Regions from separate parts of the Homo sapiens genome. Here region 2 is linked to region 1. The links are contacts of gene promoters, found by promoter capture Hi-C in blood cells and fetal thymus (Javierre and others, 2016). All regions are on one chromosome and are shown on one strand. Each heading gives the region's core, a stretch centred on a gene start or on the middle of the fragment in contact. The rest is flanking DNA. Distances are from core to core; before and after follow the strand shown.

The links. The method cuts DNA at HindIII sites, captures the fragments that hold promoters and counts their contacts. A CHiCAGO score of 5 or more calls a contact.
Region 2: the fragment with the promoter of PCDHGB4 here is called in contact with the fragment with the promoter of SLC25A2 in region 1 in 1 of 17 cell types (M1 macrophages); the score reaches 6.6 in M1 macrophages.

The regions. Positions count from the first base shown.
Region 1 is chr5:141,302,217-141,307,519 of GRCh38, forward strand. It overlaps SLC25A2 (solute carrier family 25 member 2), which reads right to left and starts at 1,833. Exons shown (of 1, transcript NM_031947.4): 1 at 419-1,833. The coding sequence starts at 1,649. The coding sequence ends at 744. The HindIII fragment of the contact is 3,271 bases long and covers 1-2,320 here.
Region 2 is chr5:141,385,974-141,391,740 of GRCh38, forward strand. PCDHGB4 (protocadherin gamma subfamily B, 4) reads left to right here and starts at 1,725. Exons shown (of 4, transcript NM_003736.4): 1 at 1,725-4,308. The coding sequence starts at 1,912. The region is part of intron 1 of PCDHGA1 (protocadherin gamma subfamily A, 1); the gene reads left to right. The region is part of intron 1 of PCDHGA2 (protocadherin gamma subfamily A, 2); the gene reads left to right. All of the region lies in intron 1 of PCDHGA3 (protocadherin gamma subfamily A, 3), which reads left to right. It also overlaps PCDHGB1, PCDHGA4, PCDHGB2, PCDHGA5, PCDHGB3 and PCDHGA6, and 2 more genes. The HindIII fragment of the contact is 3,088 bases long and covers 1,437-4,524 here.

The DNA.
Region 1 (5,303 bases), core at 583-3,082:
TGCCTATAATCCCATCACTTTGGGAGGCTGAGCTGGGTGGATCACCTGAGGTCAGGAGTTCGAGACCAGCCTGGCTAACATGGTGAAACCCCATCCCTACTAAAAATACAAAAATTAGCTGGGCATGGTGGCGGGCACCTGTAATCCCAGCAACTCGGGAGGCTGAGGCAGGAGAATCGCTTGAACCAGGCAGGCAGAGGTTGCAGTGAGCCAAGATCATGCCACAGCACTCCAGCCTGGGCGACAGAGTGAGACTCTGTCTCCAAAAAAAAAGAAAAAAAGAGAGAGTGATCCTAAGTAATCATTCATACCTATCTTCACAAAATATGGTCAATTCTGGGTTTGGGGGGCTGATATTTGAGATTATATATAGAACTAAATTGTTTCACTCACGACATAGAATCATCCAAACTGCATGTACACACAAATGGCTTTATGCAAAGGCCCTGACAGAACGATATTTAGTTTTTCAGATTAGGTACATAGGGCCAACCAGCCCACCCTGTACATTCCAGCAAGTGCAAGAGCAGCAACTTTCCTATTTCAATACAATTATGGGCAGAAATTATATGATGTAAAATAGAGGCCCTTCCATAAAGTTAAGATTTAGGGTAGAAGAAGGGAAGATAAAACCAAAATTCCCATGAAGTCAAAATTAGACAGTGGTCTTGTACTCTGCTGAACCCTGTGATGAACTGTAGTCCTCAAACTCATGGACTCGGATCCAGGTTCACCAAGACACTTCAGTATGCTTCCAACTGTTTCATCATCATCTTCCTGCTGTATTCGTAGGCCACAAACAGTGCCCCATTGGCAGGGATTGCTCGAATCATAGTAGCTTTCAGTCCAGAATATAAGGCTACTATTCCTTCATTTCTCACAACACTTAAGAGGGTACCAATAAATCCTGCCTGTTTCCCATACATGGAAAGAACTTGAATTCTGGATTTAATACAATCCACTGGGAACACGACAAGCCACAGGCAAATTCCAGCAACTCCACCACTTAACATCAAATGGACAGGGCCTAGTTCATCTTTTGATCTCCCTGACGCAAAAAACGATCGGCTCAGTTCATAGCCACCAAAGAAAAAGAAATAACCCGGTACTTCTTGAAGTAGAGTACTCGAGAGTCCATGGTAGAAGCCCAAGGGGCCATCCTTTTTAAGGATACCCTTCACGACAGACCAAATTGTATTATGGCTTTTTGCTATCTTCCCTGACATCTCCATTTCATACATGGTCTGTAGCCGGCACTTCACAAGCTCAGTGGGGCAGAGAGCCAGTGCAGCAAATGCAGAGGCGAAGGACCCCGCGGCTGCAGTCTGGAGATCACTCAGCTTTGCCTGCTTGTCCATTCCAGCCACTTTCCTGACAAACTGCTGGCAGAACCCGTAGCACATGAAGAGGACCGAGTTTTCGGCGACGTAGGCCATAAGTGCCGGGCCGGTGCCCTTGTAGAAGCCCCGGAGACCCACTTGAGCGTATGTCTTCAGGAAGCAGTCGGTGAGGCCCTTGTACAGGTCAGGGAACGTCTGCATCTTCACTTTTATTGTGTCGAAGGGCTGCCCAGTCAGTACACACGCTGTCCCCCCTGCGGCCCCCGCTGTGAGGTCGATGGCGGCTTGGATGCCAGGACCGGACTTCATGTTCGCTCACTCGTCTGAGGGTCCCAGTGGAAGGCGACTAACTCCCCAGAGCGTGAGACCGGCTTTTCACGTCCAGCCGCAGCGAGCGCGGGGAATGGAGTTGGGGGTGGTGGGGTGGCTCTACCGCCTGTTCTGGGCTCTCACCCCAGTGCGGGGGAAGCCGCTCAACCCTACGCTCCGCCGCGGGCCGCCCCCTCCCCGCGCACTAAAATAACCCCCAGCTGCCGGCCCAGCGCGCGGCTCACTAGCGTTCCTGCGGCTCCTGGCGCACTGGCCGGGCCCCCAGCCGCCTCCAGCCTGGAGCCGCCATCCCTGCACCCGCAGGCGGGGGACGCGGACCGAATAAATACTTTTAGTGTACTGCGACTGGGCGCGGTGGCTCACTCCTGTATCCCAGCACTTTGGGAGGCCGAGGCGGGAGGATCGCTTGAGCCCAGGAGATCGAGACCAGCCTGGGCAATATGGCAAGACTCCATTTCTACAAAAACGAAAAAATACCCGGGCGCGATGGCGCGCGCCTGTGGTCCCAGCAATTCAGGAGAATGAAGCGAGGATCGCTTGAACCCGGGAGGTCGATGCTGCAGTGAGCTATGATCGCACACTGCACTCCAGGGTGGGCGAAAGGGTGAGGCTCTGTCTCAAAACAAAACCAAAACCAAGAAAACATGTAAAGCTTTTCGATAAATTCTTGCAATTATGGCCGGGAACTCTAGACGCCGCAGTTCAGCTGGCGGCAAAAGAAATGCTGTCCTAATCAGTCAGCCCTGCTTCTTTTCTTTTCTCTCTTTTTTTTTTTTTTGACTTAGGGTCTCACTCGGCCGCCTAAGCTGGAGTTCAGTGGCGCGATCCTGGCTCACTGCAGCCCCAATCTCCTGGCCTCAGGCGATCCTCTCACCTCAGCCTCCTGAGTAGCTGAGACTAGAGGGACTACAGGCGCAAGCCACCACATCTGGCTAAATTTTGTATTGTACAGACGGGGTTTCGCCATGTTGCCCAGGCTAGTCTCGAACTCCTGAACTCAAGCAATCCACCCACTGGCCTCCCAAAGTGTTGGGGCTTACAAGCATGAACCACCACACCCGGCCTATCCCACGCTTCTTACCATGCAAAAAACAAAAACAAACAACCCGAAAAGAAGATGCCCTCACTTGAATAGACCCTGAATTCAGAGGGTCAATCTACAAGAAAACTGCTTTAAAGTAGATAAGACAGGCCAGGTGTGGTGGCTCATGCCTGTAATCCCAACACTTGGAGAGGCTGCGGAGGGAGGCTCATTTGAGCCTAGGAGTTCAAGGCTAGCTTGGGCAGCAAAATGAGACACCCCTTACCCCCTACAAAAAATAAAGTAGAGAAGACAAACTGTCAGAGGCGCTGGAACCACAGCAACTCCATCTTGACTAGGGACTGAGTAAAATAAGGCCGAGACCTACTGGACTGCATTCCCAGGAAGACAGGCATTCTAAGTCACAGGATGAGATAGGAGGCCGGCACAAGATACGGGTCACAAAGACCTTGCTGATAAAACAGGTTTCAGTAAAGAAGCCAGCCAAATCCCACCAGAATCAAGATGGCATAATAAGTGACCTCTGGTCGTCCTTACTGCTCATTATACGCCAATTATAATGCATTAGCATGCTAAAAGACACGCCCACCAGCGCCGTGTCCACTTACAGATGCCATGGCAACAATAAGAAGTGACCCTATGTGGTCTAAAAAGGGGGAGGAATCCTCAGTTCCGGTAACTTTGGACCCCTTTCCCAGAAACCTCATGAATAATCCACCCCTTGTTTAGCTTACATTCAATAAAAAACTGTAAGTATCCTTAGTCAAGCCGCCCAGGCCACTGCTGTGCCTATGGAGTAGCCATTCTTTTGCTTCTTTACTTCTCTAATAAACTTGCTTTCACTTGACTCTATGAACTTGCCCCAAATTATTTCTTGCATGAGATCCAAGAACAATCTCTTGGGTCTGGATCGGGACCCCTGTCCGGTAACGAAACGATCTGAGGGTTGCTACATGAGAGACAGTGACTGCTTTTGATCAGAAAACCCTCAGCGATCTGCCCACGCTCCTCACTTTCCTGGGGGGCAAGGAGGGGAGTAGGGCACTGTGGGAATCCTTAGCCCTGGAGATGTGCTACTGCTTTCCTGCAGAGCTGGAGAAATGCTATCACATGGCAACATCCCCAAGGATCTGGGGTTGCAGCCCTGGGAACTGGTGGAACGTGGAGTCCTTATCATTTCTGAAGATAGAACACGGCACTATAAAATCAACTTGGAAAATGGATAGTATTTATATACTGCATTGCTAAGAAACTTGATAGAAAAGAGCTGGGTGGCTCAGCACTATGCTTTCTAAGTTTTGAGATTCTCTTTGAGGACCCACACAGCCTCATGCAGAAGTAGAAATTTGTCGTTTGTACACTGTTGGTGGGAATGTAAAATAGTTCAACCCCTATGGAAAGCAGTATGGAGATTTCTCAAAGAACTAAAAATAGAACACCCATTCAACCCAGCAATCCCACTATTAGGTATCTACCCAAAGGAAAAGAAATCATTTTATCAAAAAGACACCTGTGCTGGGGACAGTGACTTACACCTGTAATCCCAGAATTTTGGGAGCCCAAGCCAGGTAGATCGCTTGAGCCCAGGAGCTCCAGACCAGCCTGGACAACATGGCAAAATGCCATCTCTACAAAAAAATACAAAAAGTAGCCATGCATGATGGCATGCCCCTGTAGTGGCAGCTACACAGGAGGCGGAGATGGGAGGATTGACTGAGCTGAGTTGGAGGCTGCAGTGAGTTATGATCCAGCCTGGGTGGCAAAACAAGACCCTGTCTCCAAAAAAAAAACCAGAAAACATCTACACTCATATGTTTATGGAAGCACTATTCACAACAGGAAAGTCACAGAATCAATGTAAGTGTTCATCAATAGTTGATTGGATAAAGAAAATGTGGTATATGTATACCACGGAATACTATGCAGCCATAAAAAAGAATGAAATTATGTCCCTCACAACATGGATGGAGCTGGGGGCTGTTATTCTAGGTGAAATATCTTAGAACCAGAAAATCAAATACTGCATGTTCTCACTTATATAAGTGGGAGCTAAACAATGGGTACACAAAGACATAAAGATGGGAATAACAGACACTGGGGAATCCAAAAGTGGGGAGGGTGGGAGGGATTGAGGGTTGAAAACCTACCTGTTGGGTACTACATTCACTATGTGGGTGACGGGTTCACTAGAAGCCCAAACCTCAGCGTTACACAACATACCCATGTAACACACCTGCACATGTACTCCTTGAATCTAAAATGAAATTCAATTTAAAAAGAAGTAGAAGTTCGGGATACAAATGACATGTCTAGCTTTCAAAGCAAGATGTTTTTTGGACATTAGTGAGGATACCACTGTCAGGACACACTTCTTCCTCCCAGATATTTATAATCCCAGCATTGGAATGAATTCTCTCCAGGCTTACATTCCAAGCCGTCGTCGGCCATGGGTAGTAAAAACAAAATCTGGGGGGAAGAAAGTATGCTGAAAGCATTCTCTTTCATTTAGAAAACTTTCCTTGTCTAATTATCCTTGGCTGTCAATTAAAAGTGAGGTACTTCAGAACAAAGGTCTCTGAGAAAATTTAAAA
Region 2 (5,767 bases), core at 475-2,974, 84 kb after region 1:
CAATAAAATATGTCAAATAAAATGTCATTTTAAGTGTTGTAATTGGCATTTGTGACATAGGCAATTACATGTTTTAACAGAGAATTCCAGTATGTTGTTTTAGTGGTACAGCCAGATGAAGTGTGTCTGTGGGCTATCAAAGTGGGAGATTGGGGATACTGGCTTTGTTTCAACTGTCTCACGTACTCAAACCTTAGACCATCTTATGTACACAGATCCTAGACCAGTAGTTGATTTTATTTATTAGGTCTACTGAAAAATTCAGTTGGAAATAACCCAATCTGGGATTAACTACTTCCATATTCTTTTGTATAACATTTTAGTAAAGCTCAGTATATCAAGTGATTGTCATCCAGAAGGGGTGGATGACAAGGTAATCTTGATTCCAGAGACCTTTGAGTATTAATTAAAAACACACTTTTAGCCAGGTATGGTGTTGCAAGCTGTAGCCCACCTGCATGGGAGGCTGAGGCAAGAGGACAGCTTGAACCCAAGAATTGGAGGCCCACCTAGATAATATAACAAGACTCTGTCTCTTCAAAAAAAGACTCTTTTTAGACTAGTGTTGTATTTGGTAGTATTTTGCACATGATAGACTCTGTACAATAGTGTGGGGGATACATTTTTTTTTTTTGACATGGAGTCTCGCTCTGTCACCCAGGCTGGATACATTTTACAAGTTCTGCAGTGTTCACATTTCAGATGTACAATCACTTGGGGTAGAAGACAATGTTGCTGACACCAACAATGTTACTGAGGGAAGATCCTATGGCAGAACTACGGTTATAAGGTATTTTGTAAAAGAAAATCTCCTGACCAAAATTTATTAGATGCATAAAATTGTTTTTAAGCAATGGAGAGACATAATCACTAAACTCAGTGAGCTATTGCAATCAAACTTTCCAGGGATTGTTTCCTTCAATTCAGAGGTCACCAAGGAATGTAAAATAAGTGCAGAGGTAGGAAGCAGTGCTTCAGTGCAGCAGATCTCAGTGACTTTGTGTTTTGAGGCTATGTATTATCCCCCTGATAACTTTGAAGATGAATGTTGTATTTCATAACCAGTAAAATAATTGTGTAATGAGGAGAGGAGTAGGCTACTGCCTGTGATCATCGAAATGAGAATCACATAATATTCCTGTAATGAAATCACTGAAACTATTGGGAAGGGGGTGTATTTGAAGATAAGTATAAATTGCACCTTCTAAAAGGCAATTTTGGTATTACTGATACTCTCCGGAAAAAGTTGAAATAAATCAACTTGGAGGTACTTAGAAAAGTGGAGAAAATGTTAGGAACAATGAAAGAAAGATAAAATGTATCCAGTATATTTCTAATGAGTAAGTATGGAAAATTACTGTACTCTGAGACGGTTTAGGCCAAGTCTGTGTTATGGCTATCTTTATATAGATAGTGCATGTTTGAAGATTGGGGAAAGCTTATGTCAATAAATGTTTATGTACTTAATCTACATGATTTGCCTAAAAATCCTCAAAGTTGGGATGAAGGCATTCCTAAGAGTACATTTTTAGACGTCATTAAATATACAGACGTATCCACGTAGTTTTTGTTCTTTCAGTTAGGCACACAATTATAATTATTGCACTGGTTAACTTGAAGCAGCAGAGGCTGTAGTTTCCTAGTGCTGACTCTGGGCGCCGCTGTTGGCCAAAGTGGAGAGCTTGGCGCTCCAGATCTCCTCGCGCAGCCGCAGCGCGCTTTCCAGGGCAGCCCCAGCTCAGACTCCCCAGCGCCAGCCTTTACACCGCTTCCTCCTCGGAAAAAGAAGAATTTTTTCTTGAACTGGAACTGCAACTAAAGTCCGTTCGGAGATCCAAAAATCTGCAATACAGAGGTTATTTGTAACCCGGCGTCTCCAGGCTGGTGAGCAAGCTGAGGAGAGCAAGAGGGATGGGGAGCGGCGCCGGGGAGCTGGGCCGGGCTGAGAGGCTGCCAGTGCTCTTTCTCTTCCTGCTGTCTTTGTTCTGCCCGGCGCTCTGTGAGCAGATCCGCTACAGGATTCCCGAGGAAATGCCCAAGGGCTCCGTAGTGGGGAACCTCGCCACGGACCTGGGGTTCAGCGTCCAGGAGTTACCGACTCGAAAACTGCGCGTCAGTTCGGAGAAGCCTTACTTCACCGTGAGCGCAGAGAGCGGGGAGTTGCTTGTGAGCAGCAGGCTAGACAGGGAGGAGATATGCGGGAAGAAGCCAGCTTGTGCTCTGGAATTTGAGGCTGTTGCTGAAAATCCACTGAACTTTTATCACGTGAATGTGGAGATCGAGGACATTAATGACCACACGCCAAAATTCACGCAAAATTCCTTTGAGCTGCAAATAAGTGAGTCTGCACAGCCTGGCACACGATTTATATTAGGATCTGCCCATGATGCGGATATTGGTAGCAACACACTGCAGAATTACCAACTCAGTCCCAGTGATCATTTCTCACTGATAAATAAAGAGAAATCAGATGGCAGTAAATACCCTGAGATGGTATTGAAGACACCTTTGGACAGAGAAAAGCAGAAATCCTACCACTTGACTTTGACTGCCTTGGACTTTGGAGCTCCACCCCTAAGCAGCACTGCACAGATACACGTTCTAGTGACTGATGCCAATGATAATGCTCCAGTGTTCAGTCAAGACGTATACAGGGTGAGCCTTTCAGAAAACGTGTACCCGGGGACCACGGTGCTACAGGTGACTGCCACGGACCAGGATGAGGGTGTCAATGCCGAGATTACTTTCTCTTTCAGTGAAGCTAGCCAGATCACCCAATTTGACCTGAACTCTAACACCGGGGAAATTACTGTTTTAAATACATTAGATTTTGAAGAAGTCAAAGAATATTCCATAGTTTTGGAAGCAAGGGACGGTGGAGGAATGATTGCGCAATGCACAGTGGAGGTAGAAGTCATAGATGAAAATGACAACGCCCCAGAAGTGATATTCCAGTCTCTACCCAACCTAATTATGGAGGACGCCGAGCTGGGAACACATATTGCTTTGCTCAAAGTCCGTGACAAGGATTCCAGACACAATGGAGAAGTGACTTGTAAATTGGAAGGTGATGTTCCATTTAAAATATTAACTTCTTCAAGAAACACGTATAAATTAGTGACAGATGCTGTTCTAGACCGCGAGCAGAATCCAGAGTACAATATAACCGTTACGGCAACAGATCGGGGCAAGCCTCCCCTCTCCTCCAGTTCCAGCATCACCCTGCACATTGGTGATGTAAATGACAACGCTCCGGTTTTCTCACAGTCTTCCTATATAGTCCACGTGGCCGAGAACAACCCGCCTGGAGCCTCTATTTCACAAGTCAGGGCTTCTGATCCGGACTTGGGGCCCAACGGCCAAGTCTCTTACTGCATCATGGCCAGTGACCTGGAGCAGCGGGAGCTGTCATCCTACGTGTCCATAAGCGCGGAGAGCGGGGTGGTGTTCGCGCAGCGCGCCTTCGACCACGAGCAGCTGCGCGCCTTCGAACTCACACTGCAGGCCCGCGACCAGGGCTCGCCAGCGCTCAGCGCGAACGTGAGCCTGCGCGTGTTAGTGGACGACCGCAACGACAATGCGCCACGGGTGCTGTACCCCGCGCTGGGTCCCGACGGCTCTGCGCTCTTCGATATGGTGCCGCACGCTGCAGAGCCTGGCTACTTGGTGACCAAGGTAGTGGCGGTGGACGCAGACTCAGGACACAACGCCTGGCTGTCCTACCACGTGCTGCAGGCTAGCGAGCCCGGGCTCTTCAGCCTGGGGCTGCGCACGGGCGAAGTGCGCACAGCGCGTGCCTTAGGCGACAGGGACGCCGTCCGCCAGCGCCTTCTGGTCGCCGTGCGTGACGGTGGACAGCCACCACTCTCGGCCACTGCCACGTTGCACCTGGTCTTCGCCGACAGCTTGCAGGAGGTGCTGCCGGATATCACTGACCGCCCCGACCCCTCTGACCTCCAGGCTGAGCTGCAGTTTTACCTAGTGGTGGCCTTGGCCTTGATCTCAGTGCTCTTCCTCGTGGCCATGATTCTGGCCATTGCCTTGCGCCTGCGACGCTCCTCCAGCCCCGCCTCCTGGAGCTGCTTCCAGCCTGGTCTCTGTGTTAAATCCGAATCCGTGGTTCCCCCCAACTACAGCGAGGGGACTTTGCCTTATTCCTACAATCTATGTGTTGCACATACAGGAAAGACGGAGTTTAATTTCCTAAAATGTAGTGAGCAGTTGAGTTCAGGACAAGACATACTTTGCGGTGATTCATCTGGGGCCTTATTTCCACTTTGTAATTCCAGTGAATTGACTTCCCATCAGGTGAGTTTCCTTTAAGTATAATTTAATGCTCATTGCCTACCCATTTCTCCATATTCACAAGAAAATATACATATTTGCAGGAAAATATATAATTTTTAGATGTCATGGATCATTTTAGGAAAGTTGTAGTCAGTTAAAAAGCTGTCATATCATTCTACAAAGGAGGAGTAAAGTAGGAGCAATTGTGTGGCCCAACATTTGTTTGTTTTTTAGCCAAGCTTAGATTTATAAAGCAATGAGGGTGTGGTTTTAACCACAAAGTGAAAGTGTTAGACAGTTGTTGGCTCTCTCCTAAAAAGTGAATGAGATTTTTCCTATACATTTTCCTTCTTGTTGACTAATATATGATGAATACTTTTTTCAGCTTGGATATACCATAAATATAAAAATAATAAAGCCAAAGAATTTAAGCTAAAATTCAACACTTTTCTTAACTAATTTAACTGGTATGGTCTCCATAGTAGTCCACTGTTTTGTTTCCTGTGTTAACTTCCCTTTTGTTTCAAAAGCTCTTAGAATAAGGAGTCAACTGGATTTTTATGTCCATGGACCCCTTGTGATTATATGCAGTGTACGCTGTGTGTGCGTGTGTGTGTGTGTGTGTGTGAGAGAGATCCTTTTACTTAGAAAAAGGTCTACTATGCTCATTAGAAGATCAAAAGCAGATTCTCCTTACTTGTAACATAGGAGTTTCAGGATTAATCTGTATTCAAGCTCATTCTATATCCTTCATCAAAGAAAAGACAATGTTTTGTGTCTGTTGTCCCTCTCACACACAGCCCTAATATATAATGTGTAACTGCCTTATCTGCAGCCCTAAACTAATATAGCTAGAGGTCTTCTAATCATTCTCCTACCTCTAGGAAAGAAATATAGTCTTGAAAACTGCCAATCTGGTGTGCATACAAAATATATACAAAATACCAAGGAACATTATATGAGCCTTTTGCTAGGTATATCTAAGCAACTGCTTCAGTTAATGGCCACTTTACAAATTGCTGAAAGAAGGAAACGTCTTTCGATTCTTTTTTTTTTCTTTTTTTTTTTTTGAGACAGAGTCTCTGTCTGTTACTCAGGCTGTAGTGCAGTGGCACAATGATAGCTCCCTCCAGCCTCAAACTCCTGGGCTCAAGCATTCCTTCTGCATCAGCCTCCTGACTAGCTGGAACTCAGGCTCATGCCACCAGACCTGGCTAATTTTTCTGTTTTCAGTAGAGAAAATATTTTCTTTCACTAATTTAACTGGTATGGTTTCCATTGTCTACCCAGTTTTCCATATGCATAAGAAAATATATTCACAGGAAAATATAAAGTTTTCAGATTTCATGAGTGGTTTTAAGAAAGTTTTAGTCAGTGAAAAAACTATCATACCAGTCTTCAAAGGAAGGGTGAAATAAGTTCATCTGCTACGTTGCCCAGGCTGGTCTTGAAGGGAAACAGACTTTTTTGTAGTCATACT